3 separate regions of the Homo sapiens genome follow, and regions 2 and 3 are each linked to region 1. Evidence: promoter capture Hi-C in human tissues and cell types (Jung and others, 2019). All regions are on one chromosome and are shown on one strand. The core of a region is centred on a gene start or on the middle of the fragment in contact, and the rest is flanking DNA. Distances in the headings are between cores, read along the strand shown. Region 1 holds the start of SCAPER (S-phase cyclin A associated protein in the ER). Region 2 overlaps LOC101929457 (a long non-coding RNA gene). Region 3 has its middle 7.1 kb from the start of ISL2.

Region 1 (4,401 bases), core at 674-3,173:
AGGAGGTGGGGCCTTTGGGAGATGACTGTATTATGAAAGCAGAACCTTAATGAATGGGATAAATTCCCTTATAAGAGGCCAGAGAGAGACCCCTTCACCCTTGCACCATGTAAGGAGACAGCTAGAGGGTGCCATCTATTAACCAGAAAGCAGGCTATCACCAAACACTGAATCATCAGACATCTTGATCTAGGACTTCCCAGCCTCCAAAACTGCAAGAAATGAATTTCTGTTGTTTATAAGCCACTCAGTCTGAGGTATTTTGCTATACCAGACCCAAATGGACCAAAGACACATAGAGTATATTTTTAATGCAGCTCAAGGGAGTGTGGAGAAAGAAGGAAAAGAGCATTTGTTGAGGGCTTACCATGGGCTAGGAACAGTTCTCAATACTTTACAGACACCTAATTTATTACTATCAACAAAATTATGAGGTGGATATTATTCCTACTTTACAGATAAGAAAGGCTCAGAAAAATTAATTTGCCAAAAACAAGGGTTGGGGCTGAGATTCAAACTCAAAACAGTCTGCCTTCAAAGCCATCAGATTACTTCTCCCACAGACAACCTTCCAAATCACATTAAAACTTGACTCTTTGATTGATTAAAAATATTAATTCTTTAGTGGATATCATTCTTCAAGTGGCATAAATCATCTGCAACCAACAAACTTTGAGGAAAAGTCATAGTTAACAGAAATAACAGAAGGGAAAGAGCACCAGTATAGGCCAGAGTGGGACAGTGGTCAGACTACCAACCTTAGGTCAGAAAACTTAACCCCAGATTTACCACTCACCAGCTGGTGATCTAAGGCAAGTAATAACCTTTTGAGCCCCCGTTTCTCCATTCATAAAATAAGTATTACTCCTAGCCCATCCATCCTTCTACCAGATTATTTATGAAGATGAAAAGTTAATGATGAAATTAATCCATAAACTAAGACAAACTATAATTCATATAAGGAATTAGTATCTGTTCGGTAAAATGACTATTAATGAATAGCTATTTTCATGGAAAATAACTTGTCACAACTAGAATAAGAGATGCAGTCCACCAGCAACAGGAAGCTGCTCACAAACAGGCGGCCTCATCTCAGCTGGGGCCCCCTTAACAGCAGCAGGTGTTGCTTACAGGACCAGTTTTGTGCCTGCTTTCTAACAATCCCGTTCCTCCCTGGTGCCGTTCCCACGAACGCGCCTGGAAAACGGTGTAGAGGAAAGGCGCCAAGGAAGTGCTGTTTTGGAAAAGAGCAGCAACAGAGGCAGGAGGCTGGGTCCCACTACTCCCAGGTGCGAGAGGCTCTTCGCCCCTCCAGGCCTCAGCGCACGCATCTGGAAGACGGAGAGGCCATTCCTGCCCCGTTTCCTGGGCAGAGCTAAGATCAGAGTACAGGGAAAGCATGGTAAACCCCGCTGGGAATGACAGATGACGAAGACGATCACCTGTCAAACGAAGGGAGGCTCCTCCAGGGGCCCCTCGCATTTAGACATTCCAGAAGCCTCGTCACCCGCGGCCGGGGCTGCCCCCAAGTGAGGTGACGCGGCAGCCCCCCACTCACCCCTCAGACCGCGTAGTGTGCGGGGTCTCACGTCCCTCACACCCCAGATGAGCCCGCAGGGCAGGGCCCGGACGCGGCTCACCCCAGCCCCCGTCCCGAGGCCTCCGAGGCCGACCTCCGAGCCCTCCCCAGGCGACCGCGGCTCCCCTCCCCCAGCAACGATCCCTGCCCCGCTCAACTCGCACTCCCAGGTGAGGGGAGGGGGTGAAAGGGCGTACCCCGCCGCCATTTTGTCCCCTGGTCCCCGCAAGGCATTCAGACGGCCCGCGCCCCAACCCGGACCCGCCCGGGTCTGCGCTACGCACGCCCCTCGCGGACACTCACCCCCGACCGCCCTGCTTAGTTCGGGGCGGCTCAAAGCGTCCCGCCGGGAAAGGGGCGTGACGGGGCGGGGCAGGGAGGCCTCGGAGAGGCGGGGTGGCTTCCCGGCGCACCACGTGATCTCAGCCGCTGCCGCGCCGCTCCCGGCTGCAAGATCTGTGTTGTCCGCGCGCAGGCGCACGCCCGTTCGCGCCGTTGGGGCGCCCAGGCGGGAGGTGTGAGGGTTGATTTGGTTCGATGTCCCGGCGCGGCGTTTCCGAAGCTGTTTCTTTTCCTAGGTTAAGCTTACACCGCCGCTTTTGGCCACACAGGTCTTTCTCGTACTCAATCTCTTCCCTCCTCCTGCCTTATCACCACAGTCAATCCACAGATTAAGGACTTAGAGACGCGCCTCACAGAAATCTGTGCTGGCGAAAGCACTTGACAGGAGCACGCTGGGCTGCGCTGAACACAACTAGGCCTCCGAGAAGCTTTATCAGGGCCCTTCTGTGTGCCAGGCTTGGAAGGTCGAAGTACAGAGACCTAACAAATACGTTTCATCTACTTCAAAGACAAACATATGATGAATTAAATACTTTAACGTTTAAATCAGTCTGAACAAAATAGAAAAAAGATTCAATGCAGACTGTAATTATCAAACGAATATTCACCGTCCCTTTTCATCCAGCTGGGAAACAGCTCTTTACCCTTCCCTCTCCCTCCCCACCCGCAGTAGGCGGGAAGTCCTGGACTCACAAGCGTTGTGGGGGCAGGAACCATATGGCTATGTTCTGGCTCCCCTTCTCTCTTGCCTTCTTAGAAAACTCGCTTTTTCATTTATTCAGCAAATGTTTATTGACCACATACTATATATCAGATGGTATTCTAGATGCTTGGAGTTAATACGTGAGCAAAATAAACAGAAATCTCTAAAAAACCTCCGGCTTCTTGGAGCAGGGTGAAACCAGGCAAGTGTTACATCAAGTTTAGCCAAAAGCTGTGTCCTTACATATTTTAAGTTCAGCCTGAAGGTTTCTCCGTAAATAGTAAACTATAACCTAAATGGAGGTGTAAATACACTGCAACCTACTCTTGCGCCAATCACCAAGTTTTGGCCAAAGACGGCCAACTGTTCAAACCGTGTTCAAATAAGGTAAACGTCTAGCTATAACCATTCTGGCTGTTTCCCTACCTCACTTTTCTTTCTCTGTCTATAAACCTTTTTCCACCATGTGGCTCTGCGGGAGTCTGTATGAACCTACTCTGGCTCAGGAGGCTGCCTGATTCGGGAATAATTCTTTGCTCAAACTCTGTTTAATTTGGCTAATATTTTGCTTTTAACACAAGAAATAGTAAACACAATAAATAAGTAAATTATATAACATGATAAGCACTACAGTTAACAAAATGAGTAGGATAAGGGGGATAGAGTAGGGAGCATACTACAATTCTATAAAAGGCGGTCAGGGCCTCATTTCTTAATTATCCCCACTTCCTTTCATACTCATAAGCATGTAAACAACCTGAAGTCTCTCCCATCTTGAAATCTCCCGCCGAACCTACCAGACTCCACTTCAACCTCTGCTTTCTTTCCTATAATACATTTCTCCAATTATCTAAACAAGAGTGCCTCCAATTCCTCAACCACTACTCAAGTCTGGACTTACTGCACTCTGGTTTCTGCCCCACCACCCCACTGAAACCATTCTTTCCAACATCACTAGGGGCCAGCCGCCGTGGCTCGCGCCTGTAATCCCAGCACTTTGGGAGGCTGAGGCAGGTGGATCACCTGAGGTCAGGAGTTCAAGACCACCCTGGCCAAAATGGCGAAACCCTGTCTTTACCAAAAATACAAAAAAAAAAAAAAAAAAAATAGCCGGGTGCGGTGGCGCACACCTATAGTCCCAGCTACTCGGGAGGCTGAGGCACGAGAATCCCTTGAACCTGGATAGCAGAGGTTTGCAGTGAGCTGAGATCATGCCACTGCACTCCAGCCTGGGTGACAGTGCGAGACTCCATCTCAATTAAAAAAAAAAAAAAAAAAAAAGTTGGGCTGGGCTGGTGGCTCCCGCCTGTAATCCCAGCACTTTGGGAGGCCGAGGCAGGCAGATCACGAGGTCAGGAGATCGAGATCGAGACCATCCTGACCAACATGGTGAAACCCCATCTCTACTAAAAATAACAAAAATTAGCTGGGCGTGGTGGCATGTGCCTGTAATCCCAGCTACTCAGGAGTCTGAGGCAGGAGAATCGCTGAACCAGGGAGACGGAGGTTGCAGTGAGCACAGATCATGCCACTGCACTCAAGCCTGGCGACAGAGCGAGACTCTGTCTCAAAAAAAAAAAAAAAGTCACTAGGGATTTCCCTACTATATATCTTATGGACATTATCATCATTACCTAACTTAATTTCTCTTCATGACCCTCCTTCCTTCTGGAAATACTTTTCCTTGCCTTTCATTTTTACTCTCTTGGTAGCACTTCTCCATCTCTAACCACTCCCTCTCCATCTCTTTTAAAGTCTCTCTTATTTCTCCCAGCCT
Region 2 (4,401 bases), core at 663-3,162, 620 kb after region 1:
GGTTTCCACTTGGAAGGGCTGCAGTGGGAACTGAGGGGCCTGCTCCGGGGGCTGAGCTGCATCTGTGGGAAAGCCCTGCAGCCGCTCTGCTGCTGAAAGTTTGGAATTCAGCAGACCCCATCCCTGAATTCCCATGCGGTGGGCTCAGCCCTGGCTCTTCCAGCTACTGGCTCTACCCGGGCCAGTTTAGAGTGAGAGGGTGGCCAGATCCTCCTGGGGGTGAGTCAGAGAGATCTTCCCATTTAGAGAGGATCATCACCTATTTCACAAACAGGGAAACTGAGGGAGGAGAGGGGCAGGAACTTGTCCAAGGCCACTCCTCGTCCATGGCAGAGCTGGGACTGGAACGAGGCCACCTGGTTCCCAGCCCAACTTGAAATCCCCTCATCCCTTTGGGCTTCTCTGGGGTAGGGTGGACACTCCGGGATTCCTGAAGCCCTTAGTTTCCCATGACTTCCCTCTGGGCTGGGGCATGGTGTGTATCCTGGAAGGGGCCTGGCCTTCCCCACTGTGCCCTGGCCACGACCCCGGCCCTGGGCAGAAGGGAAGCTGGGAAGAGGCTGCCCTCTGCTCTTGTTCTCCCTGGGGTCTCCTTGGCCTGTCTGCTGGGGGAGCCCCCCCAGTCCCTGAGAATGTGACCCGCTGCTGAGAGGCCTATAAGTCTCCTCCCCATGCGGGCTCTGCAGTGCCCAGGTCTGGGAACCAGAACTTGGATTTGAATTCCAGTTCCTCTGTCTATTGGCTGAGGGACCTGAATTTCCTAGTCTTTAAAACAGACGTATACCACTCCCCGCCTTACAGAGGATAATGGGAGTGAAGTGCCAGGTGAGCTGTGAGGGGCTCAGCCTACACACTAGACTTGAGGCCATTGGCCACCGGCCTGCTCACAGCAACAGCTAGGAAGGGGCTGAAGTCCCATCTTGCCTAGACAGGCCTGCCACCACTAGGGCTGTGGCAGAGGCCCCCAGAAGGTGGGGAGGAGGGCGGTGACAGTGCCAAGCCCTCCCTGCAGAGTTCTTGCCTTCTCTGGGGAGCGCCGAGGCAGTGTGCTGGGGTGCGGGTGGCCTGGTGGGTGGCCCCACTTTGTAAGGCCCATCTTATTCTGTGCTCTCTGTGAGGGGAGCTGATAATTGAGCCATTTCTCAGGGAGATGACCCTGATTTTTATGAATCTGCAGGACGAAGGAAGCAGCGCTGTCCTGCTGGGGAGACTGTGAGAAGGAGGAGATGAAGGGGAAGTTGCTTATCTTCCCAGTCTTTCCACTTGGGAGACTGTTTGGCGTGTGACGAGGGAGGAGAAGCCAATTTGAAGCCTCTTGGAGGAGGAGGTCTCTGCTGTTGCTGTCCCTGGCACAGCCTTGCCCCTCATCCTCTCTGGCCACCTGCCTCCTTAATCCATTTAACGCCTCTTCATCGCTGTTTTTTTTTTTTTTTAATACTTTTCCTGAGCTGGGGCCCCCAGGGCCTCCTTGATGGCGAATGGTCTCGGCAGCCCCTGGGCTGTTCCTGGGAAGGGACAGGCTTCAAGGTCAGGCTGCTGCTGGCTGACCTTGAAAGCTTCCGCAGGCAAGCCCCTGACATGCCTCCACTCTCCAAGCTCAGCGAGCTCCATCACATTAAAAAGCTGTTAAAAGCGCCCGTCTGGTTGGCTGCCTCTGAGGCTCTGCGGCCGGTGGTGGGGAAGGCAGCCTCAGTTCAGGGATGAGCTCCGCTAGAGGCGCGGGTCTGCCCTGGGGACCTAGGCCTGGGAACCGCCTGGCAGTTGCCCACCCCTCCATTCTTACTTGAGGGAAGGCAGTGGGAGGATGACACTTATCCTGAGCCACACAGTAGCCTAAGTGCTTTTAGATGGGTGAGCTCACTTCATCTTTACAGCCGCCCTGTAAAGTAGGGCTATTAGGAACCCCATGTTGCAGTTGGGCTCAGGAAGGTTAAGACACTTCTCTAGGGTCACACAGCGAGTAAACAGATGAGGAGACCCTCAGCCCCTGAACTCACTGGCTCGGGCCTCACCCGAAGGGTTCTCAGTGTCCACCTACCCACTCTGCACATCGTGCCCGGTGTGGGCCTCACCTGTGGTGGCCTTCTCTGGGCCGTGGCTTGCCCTGCACTCATGGGCACAGAAAGCTTCTCCCCTCTGGAGATGACCGGGGCTTTGGCCTCGGTTGCTGTGTGGCCATGGACAAGCCCTTGGGCCTGCCTTTCCTCAGGTCAGGAGTCTGGGAGGGGTGTGGAGAGTAGCGGGTGGTTATGGCTGGGCTTCAGGGCTCTTTATTCAATTCGAAATAAACCTAGCTGTAGGCTTCCATGGTGGCTTCATAGGCCTCCCCAGGCCTTTTGTTTGCCTGCTAATGGTTTCTAGTGCCCCTGCAGGGCCTGGCAGGTTCAAAGCTCACTCAGACTAGCAGCTAGCAGACTCCTAGGCTGGGGAAGGCTATGGACCTTCCTCCTTCACCCAGCCTGGCCCAGTCTCCCTGGGGACACACCACAAGCATGAGGTGGGGTAGGGGCAGCATGGGGTGGCACAGGGTGAGGGTAGGAGAGGTGGAGGAAGAAGACTCCTCCCAGGGGAGGTGAGAGGGCTGGATGCCCCCACTCCCACTCTGCTTCTGGTTGTGATGAGCCCCATGTGACTCCATCATTTGTGAGACCTTCAGATTTGCCCAGGAAGGCCCATCTGCCCATGGGCAATTTTAATGCCAAGGCATGATCTGTTCCTCTCTCTCCACCTTTCCCCCATCATCGCCTCCCACTCTTCTCCCATTCCTCTGCTCCAGCCACACCAGGCTCCCTGCTGTCCACAAGCACCCCAGGCCCACTGCTACCTCAGGCCCTTCGCACAGGCGGCTCCTCTGCTGACAGACTCCTCCCATTGGGTCCACATGGCTGGCTCATTTCCCCAGCTCCTTCAAGTCTCTGCTTGATGTTCATCCTTTTTTTTTCTTTTTTTTTCTGAGATGGAGTCTCACTCTGTCGCCCAGGCTGGAGTGCAGTGGTGCGATCTCGGCTCACTGCAACCTCTGCCACCCGGGTTCAAGCAATTCTCCTGCCTCAGCCTCCCTAGTAGCTGAGATTACAGGCGCATGCCACCACGCCTGGCTAATGTTTGTATTTTTAGTAGAGATGGGGTTTCACCATGTTGGACAGGCTGGTCTCAAACTCCTGACCGCGTGATCCACCCCCCTTGGCCTCCCAAGGCAAGGAGGGTGGAATGTGCTGGAATTACAGGCATGTGCTGCTGCACCCAGCCTGATGTTCATCTTCTCACCAGACCTGCCCTGAACATTCGACTTTAAACCGCCTCCGCCTGGCCCTCCCCATGTCCTGACCCTGCTCTGTTGCATTCCACAGATGTATTGCCTTCTGGCACTTTGTAATTAACTTACTTATGTTGTTTCTCCTTCTCCTGCATTAGAATATAAACTCTAGGAGGGCAGGCATTGTTGTTTGCTTTGATAACATTGAAACCCTCCCCAGTACTTAGCACAGTGCCCAAACACAGTGTAGGTCCCTGAGAAACACCTGCGGAATGAGTGAGCAGATGAGTGGATGGGTTTCAGTACATCTTAAAGCAAAGTATCTGTAACATTTGTCTCTTTAGGGACCAGAGAATGGGGCGTTGGAAGACCTAGGTTGGAGCCTCACCTCTGCCCTATCTTCGCTGTGTGACCTTGAGCAGGTCACTCTAACTCTTGCCGCCTCAGCTTCCTAACAGCGCCCCTGCCCGGCCTCTCTTGCAGGCCCACAGAATGAAAAGAGAGGAGTTCCAGGAAAGGGTTTGGCAGATGGCATCCCTGCAGGACTGCCTCGCGGCGCTCTGCCCCATCCAGCCCCTACGTACTGGCCATGTGACCTCAATGTTTGATGGACTCACTTGGCCTCTCTGAGGCTCGCTTTCTCCATCTCTAAAATGGAGGATGAAGCAGGTTCAGCCCCACGGGCAGGCAGCACTATGCCAGGGACATGGCGAGCCCTCTGGAAAAGTTCACCTGATCCAGACGTTGCTGGGTCAACGGGAAGGAATGACTTTCACTCCTCTGCTTCAAACCACCAGACTGTCCTTGGCCCTCCCTAATGAAGGAGCAGAGAACAGCAGAGTGGGCAGGGACCTTGGAGGTCAGCAGGGTGGCTGCTCAGCCCAGAGGCAACCGGGAGCTCGTCCCAGGGTGTGACAATTCAGTCAGCCCTTTACTGAACACTCGGCTTTAAACCGCCTCATGCCTGGCATGAGGAAGGCACCGTGCTGGAGGGTTTCACCACGGTTCTCTGTGTGTCTCCGGGGAGCTCACTGTCCTGTCTGAGGCCCGTCCGGGGTCCGGACAGTGGAGCTTTCAGGTTCGTGCGCACCCTCTGCCTGCCTCTTCTCCCTGTCAGTAAGGACGTGGGTGTGGCTGGGAGGCAG
Region 3 (4,401 bases), core at 816-3,315, 580 kb before region 1:
GTCAGAGTCTCTGTCATCCAGGCTGGAGTGCAGTGGCGCCATCTCAGCTCACTGCAACCTCCATCTCCCAGGTTCAAGCGATTCTCCTGACTCTGCCTCCCAAGTGGTTGGGACCACAGGCATGTACCACCATGCCCTGCTAATTTTTTTTTTTTTTAAGTAAAGGTAGGGTTTTGCATGTTGGCCAGGCTGGTCTCACACTCCTGGCCTTAAGTGATCCACCTGCCTTGGCCTCCCAAAGTTCTGGGATTACAAGTGTGAGTCACTACTCCAGCCTAATGCCACTTTTAGCAGCGCTATCTTTTAGCCAAAAACATTCTGCTGATAATGAGAAGACTGAATGAGGTAAATGCAGTCCCAGCCAGCACCCAGCACATAGCGGTTGCTTAGTAAATGACAGCACCTTCCCTTACCCTCCACTCCAACCCAGGGTCCTCCCTGTGTCCACAGCATGCCTGCATTCCTGCCTTTGCTCCCAGCACTCTCCCTCCTCCTACACAGGCCACATTTGAAGACTTCTCACCTTTTAAGACCCAACTCCAACTCCATATCCTTCAGGAAGCTTGTCTAGTTCATGCGGAATTCTCCTCCCCACCTACTGCCTTCTGTGGTTGCCTGTGCTTTCCTGAATCTGGGTCTTATCTTCCCAACCAGAGTGAAACCCCTTGAGGGCCAGGACCATTCTTCATACAGCAGTTGGCCTCCTCTCCTGGGCCTCGCTCAACCTCTTGACTCTTGTAATGTTTGGTCAGTATTTGGTGGTGGACCGACAGGCCATTAATCTTTTCTCCCTCTTGATTTTTATAAGCTGTGGGCACCGGCATTCAGCTGAATAAGATTCATTCCTCCAACAGCAAGAGGAGCATTATTACTTTGTTCTGAAGGTCTTTACAAGTATAAGGCATGTCTAAAGCTGCTATAAATAATTTATATTGTCCATAACTCAAGCTGATCAAAATAGACCTCATCACAGTGATGCGGCAAAATCTGGTACAAGCTGCTTTTCTCCTGCCTCCAAACCAATTACACATTCGGAGCAGATGAAAATCTGACTGGATTCCCTCCTGAATCGGATTAATGCCCCATCTACAATCACATAAATCACAATCTGTCCATGATTAGACATCGGATAATCCCACTGGACAAGAGGTGACAACCCAGATTCTATTATCTCATTTATTATCTATTTTTGGAATTTACCGGTAACTCTAACCTCCAGGAGATGTTTCCCAGTGAAAGAGGATCTGCTGGAGATTCTTTTGAGAAATGGTTTCTTGATGGACTTTTGTTAGAGTTGTTGCAAGGTGATGAATAGACAAACTAGAACAAGAATGATTGGTCCTTGTTATAAGAAAAAAAACACACATTTAGCTTCTTAAGAGTACATGTTGGAGAGAATAAATGGCATCCTTAAAAGCCTTTAAAAGGACAATAACTTTATGAAGAGATAATCTCATGTTTGAGAACATATGATAAGGCGTTTTTCATTTGTTTTAATATCATAAAGACAAGCATCTCTGACTGATAAAGGGGATGTAACCAGCCCACAAAGTCTGCAAAACCTAAATCCACACACATCTGTGCAGGACAGAGGAGCTTATTACAATATTCAGTTTTCCTGCTGGGAAAATTTGAATCTGGAAGTACTACTAAAGAGACATGCAAGGAGCACATGAGTCATGACAGTTCTGACGCCACGCTCATGGTTACTGACTCGCAGGTGCTGGAGCATTGGAGCACAGCGAAAAACCTGAAGTCACTCCCACTCTGGGATGGTACAATTCACAAAGCAGCATTGTTCCCTGGAATCTTGCTAACTGGATGTCAACCCAGATGTATTTTTCAATATATTTAACAATATCTGTAAGTCACAAGTAAGGGGTATTCTTTTCCACCATCCTCAGGATTACAAATAGAAATTCTTCCTTCACCCCATGTCAATGGTTGAGATTAATTTATCGCCCATTCACACCCTTCCCCCAAACCAGCCTTGCCCCTGTCCCGCCCATTTCTGGGGAAGAGAGGGGAGCCACTCGTCAAGTCAACATGCGCACCATCCTCCTCGGTCCCATCTCCTCCCGGCCCTCCTGACACATGTCCTTGTTGTTGCTTGTCTTGCTTGTCACATCTAAGTGTTCCTCTTTCCCCGGCATAGCTGTGTTCATCCATTTCCCCACTTAAATCTCTTCAGCCAGGCAATGGGAGGTTTCCCCTTTTCCAAGAGAATCACCTCCAAGCTCCTCAGCGTGGCACTTGGGCTTCCCATGCTCACCCAAATATCCCTTTCTGTCTTTCGTGCCTGCTGCTTCCTCCCTGACCGTCCGGCCATGTGGGCCTGCCTGGGGTGGCTATGGGTTCTCCCGGTCTCCATGACTCTGCTTGTGCCACTGCCCATAGTCACCTCTGGCTCCAGCCTCTCCTAGCTGCCCACGTTTTCCCCCAAAAGCACTTGATTCACACACTGCCTCCTTCTGTCTGCCAGACCGTTCCCTCTTCCTAGGAGACCTTCCTGCTCCTTTTGTGTCTGGAAGAATCCAGCTTATCCTCCAAGGCTTGGAAGAGACACCACAGGCTCCTCACCCTGCTCTGTGCACCACCCCCGCTTTGTGTCCTATGGTAGCTCCAGGTCATTCATGGCTCTACTGCAGCCTCTTCACAGTGCCGACCTGCACCTCCCTGCCTCATCTTTCCCATCTCTACTACTGCCTGTCTCAGTGAAGGGCACTCGTCCATCCAGGGCCTCTGCTGCAAACCTGTCCCATTTGGCAAGAGGCTGGCCTCTCTGCAAAAAAGGCGCCCAGTCCTGCTTCAGGGAATCCATTCCCTTTAGAGCTCCGTCGGTCCCTCCTTCCTTCCCTTTCTTTGTCATTTTGCTCAGGACCTGGATCTCGGCAAGAGGAGAAGTACTTCTAGAAGAAAGCAGAACACTAGAAGGTAAGCGCCATGGCTGGGAATATGCCAGTGCCTTTGGCCAAACTGCTCAGAACCACTCCCAGGCCATGCTAGCCAGCCTGGGTTCCCCCTTCTGGAAAGATGAGGAAAATGCAGCTTTCCCCCAAAGCCACTGGGCACAGCTCCTTCCCATGGCCTCATCCCTTCCTAAGATCTGGGCCTGGGAGGGTATCCCTGGGCTACCCTCAGAATGTGATTTGGAAAGAAATGACAGCCTTCATATATATATATATATATTTATATTTATATTTATTTATATTTATATATTTATATTTATATATATTTATATATATATTTATATATATTTATATATTTATATATATATTTATATTTATATATTTTGAGACGGAGTCTCTCTCTGTCACCCAGGCTGTAGTGAAATGATGCTATCTTGGCTCACTGCAACCTCCACCGCCTGGGTTTAAGTGATTCTCCTGCCTGAGCCTCCTGAGTAGCTAGGATTACAGGTGTGCACCACCACGCCTGGCTAATTGTTTATATTTTAGTAGAGATGGGGTTTCACCATGTTGCCCTGGCTGGTCTTGAATTCCTGAGCTTAGGCAATCCACCCACCTTGGCCTCCCAAAGTGCTGGGATTGCAGGAGGGAGTCACTGCATCCAGCTCCATATATATATTTTTAAAGGGTTAATTTTTCTCCTCCTCGTGTAATGACCCCATGTGGTCTTTTTATCTCCTCCCCACTGGCTACTCCCCATTGATCCCCTCAGGACAAGAGTACTATAGATTATGGGTTGGTTGGTTTTAATACAGAATCATCTTGGCATATGTCCATGATAACCCAGGTAACAAACAAAACTATTCCCATCTGGACACACTCAAGTACCACAGGTTCATAACCAGTCTCATGGACAGCTGTGGGGTGTGGGTCTGAGTCTCACGGACAGCTGTGGGGTGTGGGATTGAGTCTCAGTCGCAGTCCCATCTCTTTACTAGTTGTGTTAACTTGTGAAGGATATTAGTTTATTTATTTCTCAGTGGCTGAAAGATGGTATTAGGACCTGTCTCAGAGGCAGGGCCAACTTCACAGAAACCCTGTGCATGGAGGGGTAAGACACACTTGATTTGATGCTCTGCCATTGCTGTCTTGAATTTTTATTTTTATTTTTTTTTTGAGACAGAGTCTCTCTCTGTCACCGAGGCTGGAGTTCAGTGGCACGATCTTGGGTCACTGCAACCTCTGCCTCCCGGGTTCAAGTGATTCATGCCTTAGCTTCCCGAGTAGCTGGGACTACAGGCATGCGCCACCACACCTGGCTAAATTTTGTATTTTTAGTACAGACAGGGTTTTGCCATGTTGGCCAGGCTGGTCTCAAACTCCTGACCTCAATTGATCCACCTGCCTCGGCCTCCCAAAGTGCTGGGATAATGGGTGTGAGCCACTGCCCCTGGCCATTGAAATTTTTTTTTTGAAAATTTTGATGATTATA

Evidence for each region. The method cuts DNA at HindIII sites, captures the fragments that hold promoters and counts their contacts. A contact is called where the count stands out against the background at its distance.
Region 2: a contact is called between a fragment that was not itself captured here and the fragment with the promoter of SCAPER in region 1, in 1 of the 25 tissues and cell types used here (lymphoblastoid cells).
Region 3: a contact is called between a fragment that was not itself captured here and the fragment with the promoter of SCAPER in region 1, in 1 of the 25 tissues and cell types used here (IMR-90 fibroblasts).

Annotation. Positions count from the first base shown.
Region 1 is chr15:76,903,417-76,907,817 of GRCh38, forward strand. SCAPER (S-phase cyclin A associated protein in the ER) reads right to left here and starts at 1,924. Exons shown (of 32, transcript NM_020843.4): 1 at 1,883-1,924. RefSeq lists silencers at 1,500-1,579, 1,600-1,709, 1,720-2,029 and an enhancer at 1,770-2,270. The HindIII fragment of the contact is 13,869 bases long and covers 1-4,401 here.
Region 2 is chr15:77,527,503-77,531,903 of GRCh38, forward strand. It overlaps LOC101929457 (a long non-coding RNA gene), which reads left to right. Exons shown (of 2, transcript NR_135692.1): 2 at 3,601-4,401. Among named protein-coding and RNA genes, the nearest start is that of LINGO1, 100 kb to the right of the region's middle. RefSeq lists enhancers at 1-328, 1,171-2,014, 2,015-2,856, 2,857-3,700. The HindIII fragment of the contact is 4,673 bases long and covers 1-4,249 here.
Region 3 is chr15:76,327,470-76,331,870 of GRCh38, forward strand. No RefSeq gene overlaps it. Among named protein-coding and RNA genes, the nearest start is that of ISL2, 7.1 kb to the right of the region's middle. The HindIII fragment of the contact is 5,643 bases long and covers 1-4,401 here.